3 separate regions of the Homo sapiens genome follow, and regions 1 and 2 are each linked to region 3. Evidence: promoter capture Hi-C in human tissues and cell types (Jung and others, 2019). All regions are on one chromosome and are shown on one strand. The core of a region is centred on a gene start or on the middle of the fragment in contact, and the rest is flanking DNA. Distances in the headings are between cores, read along the strand shown.

Evidence for each region. The method cuts DNA at HindIII sites, captures the fragments that hold promoters and counts their contacts. A contact is called where the count stands out against the background at its distance.
Region 1: a fragment that was not itself captured here is called in contact with the fragment with the promoter of TAF1L in region 3 in 3 of the 25 tissues and cell types used here (dorsolateral prefrontal cortex, lymphoblastoid cells and small bowel).
Region 2: a contact is called between a fragment that was not itself captured here and the fragment with the promoter of TAF1L in region 3, in 2 of the 25 tissues and cell types used here (mesendoderm cells and pancreas).

The regions. Positions count from the first base shown.
Region 1 is chr9:32,898,213-32,901,777 of GRCh38, forward strand. No RefSeq gene overlaps it. Among named protein-coding and RNA genes, the nearest start is that of APTX, 100 kb to the right of the region's middle. The HindIII fragment of the contact is 8,795 bases long and covers 1-3,565 here.
Region 2 is chr9:32,235,893-32,239,265 of GRCh38, forward strand. No RefSeq gene overlaps it. Among named protein-coding and RNA genes, the nearest start is that of ACO1, 150 kb to the right of the region's middle. The HindIII fragment of the contact is 7,110 bases long and covers 1-3,373 here.
Region 3 is chr9:32,634,155-32,637,751 of GRCh38, forward strand. It overlaps TAF1L (TATA-box binding protein associated factor 1 like), which reads right to left and starts at 1,515. Exons shown (of 1, transcript NM_153809.2): 1 at 1-1,515. The coding sequence starts at 1,425. The HindIII fragment of the contact is 9,470 bases long and covers 1-3,597 here.

The sequences.
Region 1 (3,565 bases), core at 134-2,633, 260 kb after region 3:
GCAGCAAACATCCTGTAATCACTCTGAAGAGCTCTGAAAATGGGTTATTTAGCTTCCTAGTCCTATGATCTAATGCGACCAGATGGAATTTGCCCTTTAAAAAAAACCCTTTTCTCTCTTTTGTTCTCAAGTGATATCACAGTAATGATGAGCTGGATACCCAAAGTCTAGTTATTAGTTTTAAATGCTAAAATGGCTCAGCCTACCTACACTCTCAAAATCATCTGATTCACTGGAGGGGATTAAGAAAATGTACTGGAGTGTTAGAATGGATTTCCAAAGGAATCACATGTTTACCTCAAATCAGAGGTTCTTGGCCATAGCTACAAGCTTTGGCTCTTATTCTCACCTTACATGAAATATTTTGGGATGTTTCTCACCGTTTCAAAGATTTGAAATTTAATTTCAAGTAGCTGAATAGAAATGACATTTCCTAAATTAAAAAATTAGCACTAACTGTATGACACCCTTCATACAAATACTTTTTAATCTTAAAATAAACAAAGCTCCTCTGACTACAAATGAAATTTAAATCAGAAACTGGAACACCACCTCTAGTAGGCCAGTCTTTCCTTGCCATCCCTGAGTGAGAGGGGTCTCTGGTAAAGGGTATCAATCCTACATATATGTTATTAGCAGCATTGCTTTCTGTTTCTTAAGATAGGATGACAAGAAATCTTGCTTTCTCAACCCTGTTTGGAGGTGAGAGTATTCAATTCAGCACACATGTGTTGAGTTCCTGCTTTGTGCAAAGACTTGGTCTCAATACTGCGAGGGCGTAGAGTTCATACTCAGGAAAGAAGAGACATATTCATTTAAAAAAAAGATGTTAGGAAGCTCAATATTATGAGTTACTAACTATTGAAAGCGTTTAGTTCCAAAATTCTAAATCATTAAATTATAACATTTAGTCAGCAGAATAATCCAGGCTAAAAGCTAAACTCACTTTTCTCCTTTGATCAAAACTAAAATTTCTGTAGGTTGAAAGTAGAGAAGGAAAAGGTATAAGGACACAGAAAAGACAAACGCAGTAAGTATGCTTTACTATTAACTGAGCTTTTAACTCTTTCATAAATATTATCTAACTCTGTGTTTGCCTTTTTGAAGGGGCACAAAATGGGGAAGTGGAGTGACTCAGGGCAGCTGGTGTTTTAATGACAGGTCCTCCAAGACAGCACTGGGGCTGAATCATCAGGATCTACTCTCTGGTCTTGACTCAGTCAGGTCTGACAGCACTAGACCCAAGAAGAGTAGCCTTTCTATGACAAACTCATACTAAATGAGCCAAACCAATTCCTAAAACTAGAAAGCCAATCTATTCATCCTGCATCCAAACCACACCTTATTCCACAGCAAATTTAAGGCCACTTAGAAATATGTGGGCAAGTTATCAGAGAAAATAAATCAAAAATTTAAAAACAGAAGAGGCAAATAACAAATAAAAATAAGACAGCAAGATGGCATTGGAAGTGAAGTAAGCTCACAATGTATAGAGAGAGGTATATATTCTTGTAGAATAGCCTCCTTATAGCTGGAATCACAACGCATATACAGTGAGTTACATGGTGGCACCATCATCGTATCAAGATACCAGAGGAGCCAATCAGAAGATTATTCAGAACAAAGGAAATATAATGGGCTGAGGAGAGACATTCCCCTAAACTCTAGAAAAACCTGAGATCTGGTTCCTCAAACAAGACCCACAGCTGCAGTAGTTCAGTCTCCACGCCCAGGGTTCCTCCCTGGACAGTGCCACAGACCTGCTTCTCTGCACCCACTTACTTGGGTTCACACTTCCCTTCACCAATACATGAGGGATCACTGAGGACATAAAGCAGCCTCAGGCACTCCACGAATTCCTCATATGAGTCTTAGACACTCTTTGTCTAGTCCCATCTTTATCTTTGTCTTTCATCAGACCAATCCTTCAAATGTATTAGGTAAAATACACTAGCTATGAACTAGATAGATGACTTTCTCAAAGACAACAGAAGTATTTGTAATCCATCAGGGATCTTGGAAAAGGTTAAAATAAGAAGAGTGGCTCCAGATACAAATTCTCTTTAAGAGATCCTACTGCCATCAATAAGATATATTCTAAGTTTCTGCACAAAACTTAGCATGCCCCTTGACAGTAATTCAGCCAGTGGGAATTACTAGCTATTTGGAATTTCAAAAGAAGTGGAATTTCTAAAGAAGAAATGCAAAATAGAAAAAAAAAAACCCTATGTCCAAATATATCTATTGTCAAAAGATATCCATGTTGTTTATAAAAACAAATAACTAGAAACAATCCAAATGTCTAAGAATTGAGAAACTGATAAGTAAACTACTGTTTCGATTGAGTGCTATATTATACATCACTAAAATGATGTATATTATTTTACATCATTTTAGTGATATAGAAGTATATATAGAAGTTCTATACTTCCACATATGGAAGTATATATAGAAGTTCTATACTTCCACATATGGAAGTATATATAGAAGTTCTATACTTCCACATATGGAAGTATATATAGAAGTTCTATACTTCCACATATGGAAGTATATATAGAAGTTCTATACTTCCACATATGGAAGTATATATAGAAGTTCTATACTTCCACATATGGAAGTATATATAGAAGTTCTATACTTCCACATATGGAAGTATATATAGAAGTTCTATACTTCCACATATGGAAGTATATATAGAAGTTCTATACTTCCACATATGGAAGTATATATAGAAGTTCTATACTTCCACATATGGAAGTATATATAGAAGTTCTATACTTCCACATATGGAAGTATATATAGAAGTTCTATACTTCCACATATGGAAGTATATATAGAAGTTCTATACTTCCACATATGGAAGTATATATAGAAGTTCTATACTTCCACATATGGAAGTATATATAGAAGTTCTATACTTCTATATATGGAAGTATATATAGAAGTTCTATACTTCCATATATAGAAGTATAGAAACTTGTGTATACATTAGAATTGCAACTTTGGGAGCTGGGCGCAGTGGCTCACACCTGTAATCCCAGCACTTTGGGAGGCGGAGGCAGGCAGATCACCTGAGAGCAGGAGTTCAAGACCAACCTGGCCAAGATGGTGAAACCTCATCTCTACTAAAAATACAAAAATTAGCTGGGCATGGTGGGGGTGCCTGTAATCCCAGCTACTCGGGAGGCTGAGGCAGGGGAATCACTTGAACCCAGGAGGCACAGGCTGCAGTGTGCCGAGATGGTGCCACTGCACTCCAGCCTGGGTGATAGAGTAAGACTCTGCCTCAAAAAAAAAAAAAAAAAAAAAAAAAAAAAAAAAAAAAAAAAGAATTGCAACTTTTGGAGAAAAGTTCCTGTGCATGGGATAAGAAGGTTGAAAGGAAAATCAATCAAATGCTAACAATTGTTTTAGAATTATGGGATCAGGGGTAATCTTTTAAAATCTATTTTACAAATTTTCTTTTACTGTGGCCCTATTATGAAATATAGGTAAACAAATAAAAACATTCAAACTCACTTAAAACTTATGACACATATTGAACAAGTCTTTAAACTGTTGTAAA
Region 2 (3,373 bases), core at 57-2,556, 400 kb before region 3:
ACAAAAATTAGGCATGGTGGTGCACGCCTGTAATCCCAGCTGTTTGGGAGGGTGAGGCACGAGAATTGGTTGAACCTGGGAGGCAGAGCCTGCAGTGAGCCAAGATCGTGCCACTGCACTCCAGCCTGGGTGACAGAGTGAGACTCGGTCTCAAAAAAAAAAAAAAAAAATAGAATGTCTTCAACTTGATGAACAGTATCTATAACACAATCTGCAGTTAATATTATACTTAATATTGAATACTTTCCCTAGAAGATTGGAACAATGCAAGGATGTTTTGTTGAGCATAGTACTGGAAGTTCTAGCTAGAGCAACAGGCAAGAAAAAGAAGCAAAAGACACATATATCACAAAGGAGTAAATAAAAGTGTTTGAAGATTACATGATTGTCAACTTAGAAAATGGCAAGGAATCTATCAAAAAAAAAACCTCATAAAATAAATGACTTCAGCAAGGTCACAGAATACAAGAAAACATACAAAATAAGTTCTGTTTCTACATACTAGCAATGAACATGTGAACAAAATTAATAATTCAACACCATTTATAATTGCTCAAAAAATAAATATTTAGGTGCAAATCTAGCAAAACATGTACAGGACATGTATGCTAAAAACTGCAAAACTAAAGAAAAAGAAGAGGAAGAAGGAGAGAGTGAAGGAAAGGATAGGAAAAAAGAAAAGGAAGGAAGAAAGGGAGAGAGGGAGGGAAGGAAGGCCAGAGAGGAAAGGAGAGAGAGAGATCTAAATAAATGGAAAGATGTACTGTACTCACAGATCAAAAGACTAAATCTATAAAGATATCAATTCTCCTCAAACTGATGTATAGGTTTAACACAATTTATATCAAAATCCCAGCAATATCCTTTTATATAGAGAGAAGATTATTCTAAAATTTATATGAAAAGTAAAAGGAACTAGAATAGTAAAACAATTTTGAAAGAGAAAAATAAAATGTAAAAAATCATCTACCAAACTTCAAGATTTATCGTATAGCTACAGTAATCAGTTCTGTGATATTGCCTGAGTGATAAGCACAATAGAACAGAACAGAAAACCCAGAAATAGACTCTTAAATATGCTCAACTGGTTTTTGACAAAAGTACAAAAGCAATTCAATGAAGATAGCCTGCTGAATAAATGGTGTTCAGAAACTAGACATCCATAAGCAAAACAAAAAAAGAAACATATACAAAAATTAATCCAAATGGGTTATAGAGTTAGATGTAAATTATAAAACGTAAAATTTTAAGAAAAATATAGGAAAAAAATCTTCAGGTTATAGGCCTAGGCAAGGGTTCTTATACTTGACATTAAAAACATGATTTTTTAAAAAAGCTTCATGAATTAGACTCCATCAACATGAAAAACTTTTGCTCTGCAAAAGACTCCATTAAAAGAATAAAAAGACAAATTACAACCTTGGAGAAAATATTTTCAAACCACATATTTGACAAAAGGCAAGTATGTAATTAACTCTCAAATCTCAACAGTAAAGAAAAAAACACACAGACATTTCATCAAAGAAGATATACAGATGGCAAACCAACATATGAAAATATGTTTCACATCATTAGCCATTAAGGAAATTAGGAATGTGATGAGTACTGTATGCCTATCAGAATAGCTAAAATGAAAATAGTGACAATATCAAATGCTTGTGAGAATGTGAAGAAACTGTGTATTAGTTCGTTTTCACGCTGCTGATAAAGAAATTACCAAGACTGGGCAATTTACAAAAGAAAGAAAGTTTCACTTTGCAGGGAAACTCCTCTTTATAAAACCATCAGATCTCATGAGACTTATTCACTATCATGAGAATAGTACAGAAAAGACCCGCCCCCATGATTCAGTTACCTCCCACCAGGTCCCTATTACAACACGTGGCAAATTGTGGGAGTTACAATTCAAGGTGATATTTGGGTGGGGACACAGCTAAACCGTATCAAACAGGATCACATATACATTGCTAGTGTGAAGATAAAATGGTACAGCCTCTCTGGAAAACAGTTTGGCAGTTTCTTAAAAGAACTGCACATGCAATGTTCATATGACCCAGGGACTGCACTGCTATCCCAGAGAAATGAAGACTTATGCTTACACAAAAAGAAATCTACATGGATTTTTATTGCAGCTTTATTTGTAATTGCAAAAAACTGGAAACAACCCAGATGTCCTTCAATGGGTAAATGATTTAAAAACTGTGGTATATCCATATCATGTAATACTACACAGAAATAAAAAGGAACAAACTACCAATGCATACAATTTGAGTGAATCTCCAGAGAATTTTGCTAAGTGAGAAAACAAATCCAAAAAGTTATATACTGTATGATTCCATTCTATAAGATTCTTGATGTGACAAAGAAAGGGAGACTAGCTTAGTAATTGACAGGAGCTAAGGAAGGTATTTAAGTGGAAGGGAAATGGCTATAAAAGGACAACATGGGGGATTTGTTGTGGTGATGGAAATGCTCTGTATCTATCTTGACTGTATCAATGTCCACATGCAGATTATAATGTTGTTCAAAACTATTGTATCATAGTTTTGCAAGGTATTACCAGGGGGATAATGGGTAAAGTATATACAAGGTCTCTCTGTATTATATCTCACAACTGAATGTGAACCTACCATTATTTCACAATAAAACGTTTAATTAACACACACAATATATATATATAAATAGTTTGCCAAGATGCCTTGTCTTTTTCTTTCAGATGAACATATAGACCTGTTTTATTTAGGTGACTACTTAATCTATTCACTCATTTTTTTAATTTCAACTTTTATTTTAGATACAGGGGTAAATGTGCAGGTTTGTTATATAGGTATATTGGACCAAGGTAGTGAGCACAGTATTCAATAGATAGTTTTTTAACCCATGCATCACCCCCTACCTCGCCAGCTAGTAGTCCACAGTGTCTGTTCCCATGTTTTGGTCCATGTGTGCTTAATGTTTAGCTCCCACTTATAAGTGAGAACATGTAGTATTTAGTTTTCTGTTCCTGAGTTAATTCGCTTATGATTATGGCCTGGAGCTCCATCCATGTTGCTGCAAAGGACAAGATTTCTTTTTTTTATGAAAAGCCATGCCTTTATTCCTGATAACTCAGATACTCATTAAGCTCTTGATCCTAAGTGCGAACTCAGGGCTTCACAGCCAGATTGGTGGGCCCAAATTTGGCCAGCTGTCTGACTGACAGACATTGTTTTGACTTTGAACTAACGTCACTGGAAATGTAGTAAGTCTTGGTTATCTGTAGAGCTCACTAAATAGTATTTGTCAGCCAGTTTGTCTATTGGGGAAATTTTTTCTGATGTGATGTCATGATTTACTATGATTTTTTGAACCAAATCAATATCTCAGCAGTTTT
Region 3 (3,597 bases), core at 265-2,764:
GGGTGCAAAACCTTGCTGAACATTGTAAGCCATTACATTCCTAGTCTTAATAGAAGGAAGCCAGCCTGCCAGGCTTGCACCCTGAGGTTTTGTCCCTTTGTGTTTGATATCCTCCCCATCCCAGATGATAGAATCCTCCCAATGCAGCTGTGTCACCATCAGGAAGTTTTCGTCAGCCAGAAGATCAGTGCCATTGCTTTCCTCAAGTTTCCTAAATTCCTCCATCATTCTAGATTTTATCACAGGTTCATGTTGTGTCTTTCTCAGTTTGAAGCCATAGTCAAACCCACTGCCATCTTCGGAGACACCCAGCATATCATACCACAGTCGGGCAGGCCCATAACGCCACTCAGCCACTCTTGGTTTGGTATCTGTCACTTTATCTACATCTCCAGTTGATTGGGAAAATTTGGACTCCACAGGAACCATCATCGTGATTTCATCATCAGCGAGACACTGCTCTGGGGGTGGTGGTGGAGCATAGTCATAGTTCCACAAAGACTTCTGGCTGACTTCTGATTCTACTGAGCATTCCACCTCCTGGATCTGCTCTTCCTGTATCAGCTCACGATGCTTCTTCCTCTTTCTCCGAGCACTCCGCCAAACAGATGGGACATTCTTCCCTGGTCCAAAAAGATGTAGGAAGCGTAACACTTTTCCAGGTCGAAATTCTGGAAAAAGTTCGGTGACACTTGGCAACAGCTTGGTGGCATCATGCTGCATAATCCCAGCCAATGGAAGGGTCAGCTTTCCATCCTCAGATTCTGCCTGTGTTGCTTCCTGAGGTCCCATCTCAGATTCTGAATCAGAGTAACTACTGAAATCCACTTTCTCTGAGGCCAAAAAGGAAGGGGCAATGATGGAGGGCAAGATGATGTCTTCTCCACTTTCAGACACACAGGTAATAGCATCTTGGTCCTTATCCTTCTTCATTGGTCCCGGGGGTGGAGGTGGAGGAGGCATCAACTTGCAATCAATGTCTTCACAATCAGCATCATAGTCATCTTCATCATAATCCGAGTGGTAAAGGGGCTGCAAGCTCCCCATCGTCTGCTGGTGTCTTTGGCTTTCATCTTCTGCCACCTCATTGATGTCTGAATAGTCTACAGCATCTTCTGTACTCCTAATCCACCCTTCATCATTTACCAAGGCACCGCCAGTCCCAGTCAATTCTTCATTTGCCGTGAGTTCAGTGATTAGGCTGCCCAGCCCCAAAGCCCCCAAGCCTGCCAAGTGCTTCTTACACTCATCATCCAAGACGCTTTCCCCCTCCAGCTGCCCCGCTCCACTGATGTTGCCGAAAAGGATACCCGCTAAAGTAAATGGGCCACCTCCAGATGAATCTTCCTCGCTGTCCGAGTCTGACATGATGGCGGCAGTGACGGTAGCTGCTGCCCTCAGCAGCAAATCGCAGCCGGGTCGCATAAACCGGAAATAAAACAACAGTCGCCCGGAAGTGATCTACTTAGCTCCCTTACCCTACCAGCGTCTACCGGAAGCTGAATAAAGGCGGGGGGAGGGGGCAAAGGGGCGGGGGGAAAAACCCGCAAAACTTTTTTTTTTTTTTTTTTTTGAGACGGAGTCTCGCAACGTCGCCCAGGCTGGAGTGCAGTGGCGCGATCTTGGCTCACTGCAAGCTCTGCCTTCTGGGTTCACGCCATTCTCCTGCCTCAGCCTCCTGAGTAGCTGGGACTACAGGCGCTCGCCACCACGCCTGGCTAATTTTTTTTTTTTTGTATTTTCAGTAGAGACGGGGTTTCACCATGTTAGCCTCTCGATCTCCTGACCTCGTGAACCGCCTGCCTCGGCCTCCCAAAGTGCTGGGATTACAGGCGTAAGCCACCGCGCCCAGCCTGTTTGCTGGTTTTTGAGACAAAGTCTTGCTCTGTCGCCCCAGGCTGGCGTGCAGTGGCACAATCTCGGCTCACTGAAACCTCCACCTCAGGAGTTCAAGAGATTCCTGCCTCAGCCTCCACAGTAGCTGGGATTACAGGCATGAGCCACCATGCCTGGCTAATTTTTTGTATTTTTAGTGGAGACAAGATTTCACCATATTGGCCAGGCTAGTCTTAAACTCCTGACCTCAGATGGTCAGCCCGTCTCTGTCTCCGAAAGTGCTGGGATTACAGGCGTGAGCCACTGCACCCAGCCTCTGTAAATCTCTTTATACATGAACTGCATATGTATGCTTCTCCAAATAATCTATAGCATTGTCATGCTTTACAATTTTGTATAAAAGGCATCTTACTGTGTGTACTCGTTTTTTTTTTCCCCCTTCCTTTTTTTTAAGAGATGGGATCTCACTATGTTAGCCAAGCTGGTCTTAAACTCCTCCTGGCCTCAAGCAATCCTCCCACTTTGGCCTCCCAAAGTGCTGAGATTACAGGCAAGAGCCACCAAACCCGACCTTACTGTATGTACTCTTAGCCAGAATGTTTTCTGGATAAAATTTATGTTTATGATATTCAACTATGTTGATGCATTCAATTCTATTTTTATAGCTCTATAGTGTTCTACAGTATGGTTATGCTACAATTTATCTATGTTCCTATGTTTGTTCATTTAAATTGTTCCCAAATTGTTCCTCTTATAAATAATGTATATGATTCCTTGAGCATATGTAGGACACATTCTCCAGGGTATACATCTAGGAGTGGAATTACTAGATTTTACAATATATGCTTTTTCAACTACACTTGCTATTACTAAATTGTTCTCCAAAGTAGTTGTACCATTTTACATACCTAACAGCAGTGTATAAAAGTTCTCACCTCTCCACATCCATTCTAACACTTAGCATTGTCATTTGTTAATTTTTGTTCATTTCTAATAAATGTATAATGATAATGTGGTTTTAATTTGTATTTTTCTGATTGCTACTGAAGGCTAACTTTTCATACACTTATTGACCAACTGTTTTTCCTCTTCTGTCAATTGCCTTTTCATATATTTTTATCTAATTTTTATAGTATCTTTAGGTTATCTGTCTTTTCTTTAATGTATAACAGTTCTTCATATATTATGGATTTGCTTGCAAATAACTTCCCCAGTCTGTGACATGTCTTTTAATCTATTTTAATGGTGTCTTTAATATATATTTTAAAATTTCAATCTTATCAAATTTTTCCTTTATGCTTTTTTTTTTTTTTTGAGACAGTCTTGCTCTGTTGCCCAGGCTGGAGTGCAGTGGCGCGATCTTGGCTCACTGCAACCTCTGTCTCCAGGTTCAAGTGATTCTTCTGCCTCAGCCTCCCCAAGTAGCTGGGACTAGTCTAGTCAACTGTCTTAATGATTTTCACAATTTGATTGCAGATTATCTTGGGTGGTTGTTTATGTAATCCTCTATAAGTAATCATATTTAAAGTGTTATTATTTATCATTCTATTTTTAAATACTATCAATTGTGTATGCATGTTTTTATCTCTTCCTTTTAGATAACCAATAGTATTTACTTTTCCACCTTGCTTTTCTTGCTTAAAAATATATCTTGGAGATTACTCTGTAGTAGTTTATAAAGAGATTCCTTCTTATTTTTGATAACTGTAGAGTTATCACTTGGGTGAGTATACCAGCCACCCATTGACAGGTATTTGAGTT